Linked DNA regions of Homo sapiens: all the other regions are linked to region 1. The links are contacts of gene promoters, found by promoter capture Hi-C in human tissues and cell types (Jung and others, 2019). All regions are on one chromosome and are shown on one strand. Each heading gives the region's core, a stretch centred on a gene start or on the middle of the fragment in contact. The rest is flanking DNA. Distances are from core to core; before and after follow the strand shown. Region 1 holds the start of PLD5 (phospholipase D family member 5). Region 2 has its middle 37 kb from the start of PLD5. Region 3 overlaps PLD5 (phospholipase D family member 5).

What was found. The method cuts DNA at HindIII sites, captures the fragments that hold promoters and counts their contacts. A contact is called where the count stands out against the background at its distance.
Region 2: a contact is called between a fragment that was not itself captured here and the fragment with the promoter of PLD5 in region 1, in 10 of the 25 tissues and cell types used here (H1 embryonic stem cells, bladder, dorsolateral prefrontal cortex and 7 more).
Region 3: a contact is called between a fragment that was not itself captured here and the fragment with the promoter of PLD5 in region 1, in 4 of the 25 tissues and cell types used here (mesendoderm cells, ovary, small bowel and 1 more).

Annotation. Positions count from the first base shown.
Region 1 is chr1:242,523,343-242,526,229 of GRCh38, forward strand. PLD5 (phospholipase D family member 5) reads right to left here and starts at 1,355. Exons shown (of 10, transcript NM_001372062.1): 1 at 746-1,355. The coding sequence starts at 934. The HindIII fragment of the contact is 9,545 bases long and covers 1-2,887 here.
Region 2 is chr1:242,560,524-242,563,410 of GRCh38, forward strand. No RefSeq gene overlaps it. Among named protein-coding and RNA genes, the nearest start is that of PLD5, 37 kb to the left of the region's middle. The HindIII fragment of the contact is 4,065 bases long and covers 1-2,887 here.
Region 3 is chr1:242,488,870-242,491,756 of GRCh38, forward strand. The region is part of intron 1 of PLD5 (phospholipase D family member 5); the gene reads right to left. LOC105373234 (a long non-coding RNA gene) reads right to left here. Exons shown (of 3, transcript XR_949328.2): 2 at 2,319-2,412; 3 at 684-1,489. Among named protein-coding and RNA genes, the nearest start is that of PLD5, 34 kb to the right of the region's middle. The HindIII fragment of the contact is 5,746 bases long and covers 1-2,887 here.

The DNA.
Region 1 (2,887 bases), core at 105-2,604:
GTTTTTTTTTTTTCTTTCAAAATAGCAAGCCTTAGGAGCTCAACTCCAGAGCCAATTCACTTCGCGTGAAGTCGGCACTCCTTGGGAGTAGAGGTCCCCTCTCACCGGCTCCCACCCTCCAGAGGGGAGGATTTCTGGGGAGCCCGACGATCCGCTCGCTTTTAGCCTTTCTCCTTGCAACGCGCAAATCTCTCCCTAGTTGGGCTCAAGTAGAGAGGATCACCAACTGCTCATCCCAGCGGACACTCTGCAAAAAACTCTAATGGCTTGTGCGCGGGTCCACGCTGGTCGCTAGCGGCGCCAACTTTACTCATTCGTTAATTTGCTAGTTTTTGGACTGAGTAAAACAGCCCCCAAAGACGCGGGCAAACGCCGCTCTAAAGCCCACTACCATGCAACGCCAGGTTGCTCGGAGCCACGCTGGTGGCACTTCCCCTTCGTGCTCACTCTGCACAGGCACCTCCAGAACCCCGTGCAAATGAACCCTACCGGGAGACGCAGGTGGGCAGGTCGGGTCGGCAGGGACCAAGAGCCTGAAAGGGAACCTGCCCTCCCCTCCCCGCAGCCCGGTCATTAAGGCAAGAAACTGCAGGCAGAGAAGCCCCCGAATCCGACCTAGGACGTCGGCGCCTGCCAGGATCCCCTCGCCTGCCCCCCGCGCCCCGCGCGCGCTCATGCCACCACCACGGGGAGGGTGCATGCGGCAGGTGCCTGGCCGAGGCCCCCGGGAGCGAGTCGCCCTTACGTGCTCCAGCTTGTCTTTCCTCCGAAGCCAGACGCTGGCGCTGTAGTCCTGCTGCTTGACGCTGCTGTAGAAGTTCGCGCCCACTCGGGTCAGGCTTGGGGAGGGCTCCTTGGGGCGGCTTTTGAGCCTCATCTGCTCGAAGCCCTCATGGGGGGAGGCCGAGAGCCACTCGTGCTGCCGGATCTCCATCCTGACATGACCGGGCGGCCGCCGGCGAGCAGCGGACTCGGGACGGGCGCGCGGGGAGCCGGGCGCGGAGGGCGAGCGGGAGGCCCAGCGGGAGCCGGAGGTGGAGCTGGAGACTGAGCTGGAGGAGCTGGAGGAGCGAGCGGGCGCGGGGAGCGCGGGGTGCTGAGCGCCAGCTGGGAGCGCGGCCGGGCGGGAGGGGGCGATCGCGGGAGGCGCGGGGCGGAAGGAGGGAGGGCGAGGTGCGGGCGGGGGCGGGGGCGGGGGCGGAGGGGGACGGACGGGGAGAAGGGGGACGAGAGGGGACAGGGAGGGAAAGGAACCTGCTCCGGGGAGACAGAAGTGCCCGGTGCGGCGGCGACGTCGCCCGGCGGCTGCGGTCCCGAGCGGGCGCTCCGCTCGCCGGCTCCTTGCGGCACCTACTGGGACCCGGGCCGGCTCCCGGGGCGGCGGCGGCGGCGGGGGTGGGGTGCGGTGGGAGGGGCCGCGGCTGGCCCAGCCAGCCCGCGCCTGCAGGTTGGTGCAGTGAGGAGCCGCCGCCGCCCCTCCCGCCGCGCCCAGGCCCGGGCGGCCGCGCTCCCGCTCCGCACCCGCCTTTCCCGAGCAGGCTACACCTCTCCCTGGCGCATCTTTACTGGAAAGCCGGCAGGCGAGGGGAGAAGTGAGCGCCGTCTCCGCGCCTCCTCGGTCCTGCTGGCTGAGCGCGGGGATGGCTCCGGAGGGAGACACTCAGGAAACCACCTCCGCCCTTCCCCCATCTCTATCCAGCGGCGCCCCCTCACCCTGCCCCCGGCTCGCTTGGGCTGCGCCTTCCCCCATTCTGAAAGTTCACTAACTTCCCACCCCAAGGGACTTAGAGCAGAGGGTGCCCAGCATTCCCCCCTGAAAATAGCCGAGAGACATGTGTTTTCTGGAGCCGTACACGCTACTTTCATCCGATGGTGTGGCGATGCAAATACGCCCGGGGGCAGTAGCCCCTCGGGCAGGCACGCGGGACCGGTTGCTCCCCAGCCCTCGGTGTCCACCTAGAACCGGGCTCCCCGGGCCGCACCCATTCCGATCCTGGGAGGGTGATCCAGGGCTCCTCTGCAACGCTCCGCTTGTGCGGTGACTGTTCCTTAGGTGGACGTGGCCCAACTGCTGTGCATTTGTTTCTTTTCTCTGTTTCTAGGCCCCTAGGGTCCAGGCTTTTCCTTCGGGGCCCAGCCAAGCGTGATGATTATTAGGAATAGGGTGGCTTGTTCGCGATTAAATCTTCAATCTCTTCATCTTTTGCTATCTTTGGAGTCAACCTCTCGAAACATTTTTTGGTTTTATCTAAATGCTAAACAGCTGGTGTTCAGGGTGTCTCGTGTCTGGTTAAAAGCTTGGGAAGTGTATGGAAGCTGGAGAGGTATACAGGGGATTTTAGAGGGTGTTGCCAAGGGTAAACTGAAGGCTCTCTAGCCCTCGGCAGAACTGCCCTACTTGAATGACGGTTTCAAAGACATTCTGGCTGGGATTTCACAAACTTTTAGGAGGACAGGGATTGTGTTTCATATCTTTTCAAAGTCTCCATTTAAAAAAATGGTATAGTAAAAATAGTAGTTGAAATAAAATCCTGTGCACATTCAATATGGGGATGAAACAACTAAACACAAATACACACATTTTGGTTGTGCTAGGTTGGTTTTCTTAGGAGCTGAACTATATTGTGCAATAGATGCCCCGACCTGTGGGCTATCTCTAAGTCTCATGTTATCCTGCAAGATAAATGTTATTAACCCTCCTTTCCAGTGAGGAAAGTGAAGCAGAAGCAGAAATTACACTTCAAAACAAGGATATGAACCAGATTGAAAAGCTGTGAAGGCCAGGCGGAGTGGCTCAGGTTTGTAATCTCAGCCCCTTGGGAGGAGGAGGCAGGAGGATCACTTGATCCCAGGAGTTCCAGACCAGCCTGGGCCTACACTAAAAATA
Region 2 (2,887 bases), core at 263-2,762, 37 kb after region 1:
GAAAGGAAAATCTTTTTAATACATTGTGCTGGAATAATTGTCTATGCATATGAGGGAAAAACGAACCTTGACCCCTACCTCATATTACATACAATCCCTCTCATTTTTAGCTGGATTATAGACCCGAATATGAAAGCTAAAACTACATAGCCTCTAGAAAAAAAAAAAACCAGAATATCTTTACAATACATGGGAAAGTAAATATTTCTAAGCGATAAAAATCACTAACTATAGAAGAAAAATGTTTGATAAATTGCTGTATATTAAAATGTAAAACGTATGCTCATCAAAAGGCACCATTAAGCAAATAAGTACTGAAACTAGAGTCAGGGAGAAATACTTGCAAGACATATCTGGCAAAGGACTTAAATTCAGGGTGTGTGTGTGTGTGTGTAAAAGAATCTCTTATATGATATTCTAACATGTTCCCCAGGATTCCAGCCCCCAGGTGTATATGCCCTTCTATGGGCATATATGAGTGTGGTAGACCCAAGGGGAGGAAATTATACATGTGAATATGATGCATGCCACTCCTGTGGTTATGTTACAGTACATGGCAAAATGAAAGGATTTTGCAGATTTAATTAAAGCCAAAAATCAGCTGACTTTAATCAAAAGGAAGATTGCCTTGAGTGGTAAGCTTCTTAAAAGAGATTCAAAACAGGAGAGATCCTCTCTCTCCTCCTGGCCTTGAAGATGCAAGCTGTCATGTCATAACTATCTGTACAGAGGGCTGGCCTCTGGGAGCTGAGGTTCTCAGTCCTACAACCACAAGGAACTGAATTCTGCCAGCAGCCTGAATGAACTTGGAAGAGGACACTGAGCTCCAGATACAAAACCAGTCCCTGCCATCACCTTGATTGCAGCCTTGTGGCACTCTGAGCCGAGAACCCAGCTCAGCCATCATGCTCAGGCTCCAGATGCACAGAAACTATGAGATAATAAATGCACCTTGTGGGCCAGGCACAGTGGCTCATGCCTGTAACCCCAGCACTCTGGGAGGCAGAGGTAGGCGGATCACTTGAGGCCAGGAGTTCAAGGCCATCCTGGCCAACATGGTGAAACCCCATTTCTATGAAAAATACAAAAATTAGTCGGGCGTGGTGGCATGTGCCTGTAGTTCTAGCTACTTGGGAGTCTGGGGCAGGAGAATCACATGAACCTTGGAGGTGGAGGTTGCAGTGAGCTGAGATCATGCTACTGTACTCCAGCCTTGGGCGACAGAGTGAGACTGTCTCAAAAAAATAAAAATTAATGCACCTTGTTTAAACTGCTAAGACCTTGGTAATGTGTCATACATCAATGGAAACCTAATATAACTTATAATTCAATAAGACAAACAACTTGATATTTTTTAATCAGCAAAAGATTTAAAGATATTTCACAAAGGAAACATACAAATGGCCAGTAAGCCCATGAGAAGATGCTCAATATCTTTAGACATCAGGTATATGCAGATTGATACAATAATTAGATATTATTTCATGCCCACACAACACAAAATTTGTTAAAAAACAAACAAAGGATATTAATTGCGAATGTATGTATTTCTGATGGGCATGTAAAATGGTATGACCACTTTGGAAAATGAGTTGGCAGTTTCCTTTTAATTTTTTTTATCTTCTAAAATAGAGATGGGGGTCTCGCTATGTTGACCAGGCTTCTCCTGAACCCTGGCCTCAAACAGTCCTCCCACCTCTGCCTCCCAAAGTGCTGGGATTACAGGTGTGAGCCACCACACCCAGCTGGCAGTTTCTGATAGAGTTAAACATACCTCTGATTAGACAATTCCACTCCTAAATATATTTATCGTGGAGAAATGAAAAACATATATGTCCACAAAAAGATCTATACACAAATGTTCATAGAAGCTTTATTCACAACAGTGAAAAACTGGAAAGAAACCAAAATGTCCATCAATAGCAGAATGGATTTTAATAATCATTAATGAGAAAATACTTGGCAATAAAACTGTTACATACTACGGATGCATGAGCAATGTGGATGAATCTCAAACACACTGTGTTGGACAAAGAAGCCAGACACAACAGAACCCATACTGTGTAATTTCTCATGTATAAAATTCAATAATAGGTGGAACAAATCTACGATGATGGAAATCAGAACCTCAATTGCCTCTAGTGGAGAAGAAATTAAATGGAGAGGAACATAAGAAAATTTTTGGAGGATGATGAAAATGTTCTGTATACTGCCTGGACTATATTGCTAGATACATTAGACAAAACATTTGTCTTTATGTTAAATGCCTTTTAAAAATATTTAAGAAGGAAGCATTAGGCAATAAGGAATTAGAGTCAATGAGTATCAATTGTTGAAGTGTCATGGAGAAAGAAAGTGAGGAAGCAGCTAGAACATGACAGGGGGCCTAGTGAGGATTGTTTAAAGCTTCCATATGTAGCAGCGTATTTGTATGCTGATACAGTGCCCAGGTACAGAGGAGAAAATCAATGGTGCAGAAGAAAGAGAGAAGATTAGTTGGAATGACGTACTTGAAAAGGTGAGAAAGAAGGGATCTAGCGCCCAGATGGAAGGGCTGGTTTTAGACAGAAACACAATTCACCCAAAGTAACAGGAGAGGAGGCAGGGATTATAGTACAGATGCTGGCTTGACATGAGAGACAGTGAGTGGGGCCTGGGGTGCTGGTTTTGGAGTCCATCGTCCATCGTTCCTACAATCAACACTTACTAGATGGAAAAAATAACTCCTGCTTTCTTCACAAGATTGTACTGAGGATTTAATGAGACTAAATGTATGAAACGAGGGAGCCTAAAAAATAAATCTTGCCACAAACACCGTAATTAATATAAAGAGTTGGTGATTGTTAATATTGAGTGTCAACTTGATTAGATTGAGGGATGCAAAGTC
Region 3 (2,887 bases), core at 153-2,652, 34 kb before region 1:
TCAATTTTTCTGTAAACATAAAACTCGTCTAAAAGTAAAGACTCTTTTTTAAAATTATAGTACTGATGATTAAAACTTGAAAATGAATTCTAGTAATAGTAGCAACAAGAATGTGAAATCAAGCAAATATTTGAGGAAGTAAATCTCTGTAAGAAACCAAAGGAATGAACTATTGACATCTGCACCAATATGGATCTATTTCAAAAATATGATAATGAGTGAAAGAAGCCAGACACAAATGAGTACATGCTCTGTGATCCTATTTATTCAAAGCCCTAGTATAGGCAAAACTCATCTCCAGTGACAGAAACCAGATCAGTGGCAGAGAGCTGGGAAAGGGTTTTTTTCAGAGGAGCATGAGTGAGTCCATCATCCGTCCCTTTTTGGGGTGATGGAGGCATTATATATCTTGATTGAGATGTTGGTAATATGAATTATGACATTTTTCAAAATTCATCTAACTGTGCATTTTATTGAATGTAAGTCACACCTCGATACATTTGATTAAAAAAAAAAACAGAGAAAAAACAGAGATGCTGCAACCAGAGAGAGAGAGAAAAAGGGAAGGAGAGACAGAGGAAGGACAGGAAGGAGGGAGGAAGGGAGAGAGAAGAGGAAGAGGCAGCGAAAGAGGATGAGCTATATTGTAATAAAACATTAGCAAAAATAATTACTTCAGGAAATGGATTTGCAGGTGATTTTTATTTTCTTCTGAAGACTTTTCTACATTTCCATTTTAACACTGAATGTGTATTCCTTTTGTAAGAAAAATGTTACATTAAAAAACAATAAGCATACCATTATAAAAAGAAAGGAAGGGAAAGGGAGGGACATGGGTGAGGAATCCTCGTTCATTGTGGCAGTTTAGCCAGAAAGTATTCAGGGCAGTTGGTATTTGTGTTGGCTCTTACAGAATCAACAGAATTTCAAAGGATTTCACCAAGCCTCGACAAAAGGAGAGATCATTTCCCGCAGAAGGAACAACTGCAGAAGAGCATGTGGAGGATGCACTGGTAATACATAGAAATGAGCTTTCTTGAGATAGGAGATTGAAATTGTAAGATTGAAAGGATGAAGCTTCTTTGTCACCAGATTCTTGACTGAAGCAGAGAGAAAGGTTCCATTCACATCAGGCATTAGAGGAGCCATTCGAACTTTTAAGAGATCCACTAAAATGGGAATGGCAGTCCCGTCTGTGCAAGAGCACCATCTGAAGCTTCCTCTCCACACAGGAACTGTGATATCCATGAGTTCTGATGCCTCAATGCCCATCATCAAAGAATGATGCTAATAACCCTTAGTGAGAACCATGGCTCCAGAAGCAGTCTCTGTTAGGTTTGGGTCTTACTGGTGATTTTCCACCATCTGTTACCAGAAGTTCGTTTCTTACCACACGGCTTTTATGTAGTCATTTGTAATAAACCCAGAAATTCAAAAATCAGCAAGCTGTTTCATGGCTCTTTGGAGACCACTGTTTTGCAAAAGTGTTCTAAAATAAACCAAATACCATTTTTTAATTGTATTGTAATTATGTGTGCACATACAAATTTTCTTTCAGTCTTTCTCTTAAATATAAACTTTCAAAACTATACCTCGAACACAGGATTACTAATTTTTGGCCCTCTTCGGTTTTGTTCAGTTACACATTTTCTTAATAACATATATTTTTAATTCTCTTCACTGAATGTCTAGGTTCCTCATTTGCTGCATCAAAACGTTCATTTATTATATAAACTTGATTTCTAAAACACTGAATATTGGGGCTACATGGCAATGCCTCGGTTCTCAGCAACCTTTGTGTAGAACCCACATCTGCATTACAGAATTCCTCAATGTTCATCTCTTTTTTAATCTTGAGGATTTCAATATCTCTTTAATACTGTGTAGAGAAAACCTACCGCTACGTCATACCCTAATGCTTCTCAGACTGTGATGCTCCCTGAAGCCTTGGCAACAGTAGACCCTGGGGTTCCGAAAATTTGGAGGAGCGCCTTAGGTTTTGCATTCCTAATAAAATCCGTGGTGATGCTCCTTCCTGCTTCCTCTTTGTAAAGCACATTTTGAATAACAAGGCTTAGCAGGAGCTTCTTGCACACCAGGCTTTGATGTTTCCCCCCACATATACCTTTGGGACATGACAGTCTCCTCCTTTCAGACACATTTTATTCCCTTGATCTTCACTAAGTTATTCTTCAGGCTCAACTGATCTAAATTATATTTCTAATTCCCACTGCTAATCTTGTATTCTTAGAATTTCTTGGCATCTTCTCCAGCTTTAATATTCGTTCATTTTCATATTCTGAGTTCAGTATACTTACCTACAGCAACTTCTTTCTCTGTCTTAGACCTTTCGAGTCCACATTCACTAATCTCTTTCAAGTTGAGTATTTTCCTGAGTTGTTGATCATAATTCTAGAAGAGAACATTGAAAAAACTTCCTCTTTTCCATATTACTTATATATAGATAGACATTTAGATACAGAGATATGTATAATAGATACATGAAGAAACGTGTGCATGTGCGCACACACACACATAAACACACAATTACATAGATGCCTTAGAAAACACCACTGTCAACCCTTTACAAGGCAAACACAGTGGATATAGTCCAGCTACACTGAACTCAAAATTCAATTCCATAAGACAGTAGAAAAACAAAAAATAGTAAACACGTATATTATATCTAAATACTTTAAATATTTAAATCATATCATGAATTGGGTTCTGCTCCACAAAGAAAATTTTCCAGATATCCCATTGTTTTCTTGTGCTCTCAACCTTCTCTAGTCTCATTTGTCAGTTTTATGTTGCCTCATTCTTTCTCCTGAAACTCAGTCTTCAGATTTTCTATGTCCTCATTCTGTGGCACTGTGTTCTCCATTTT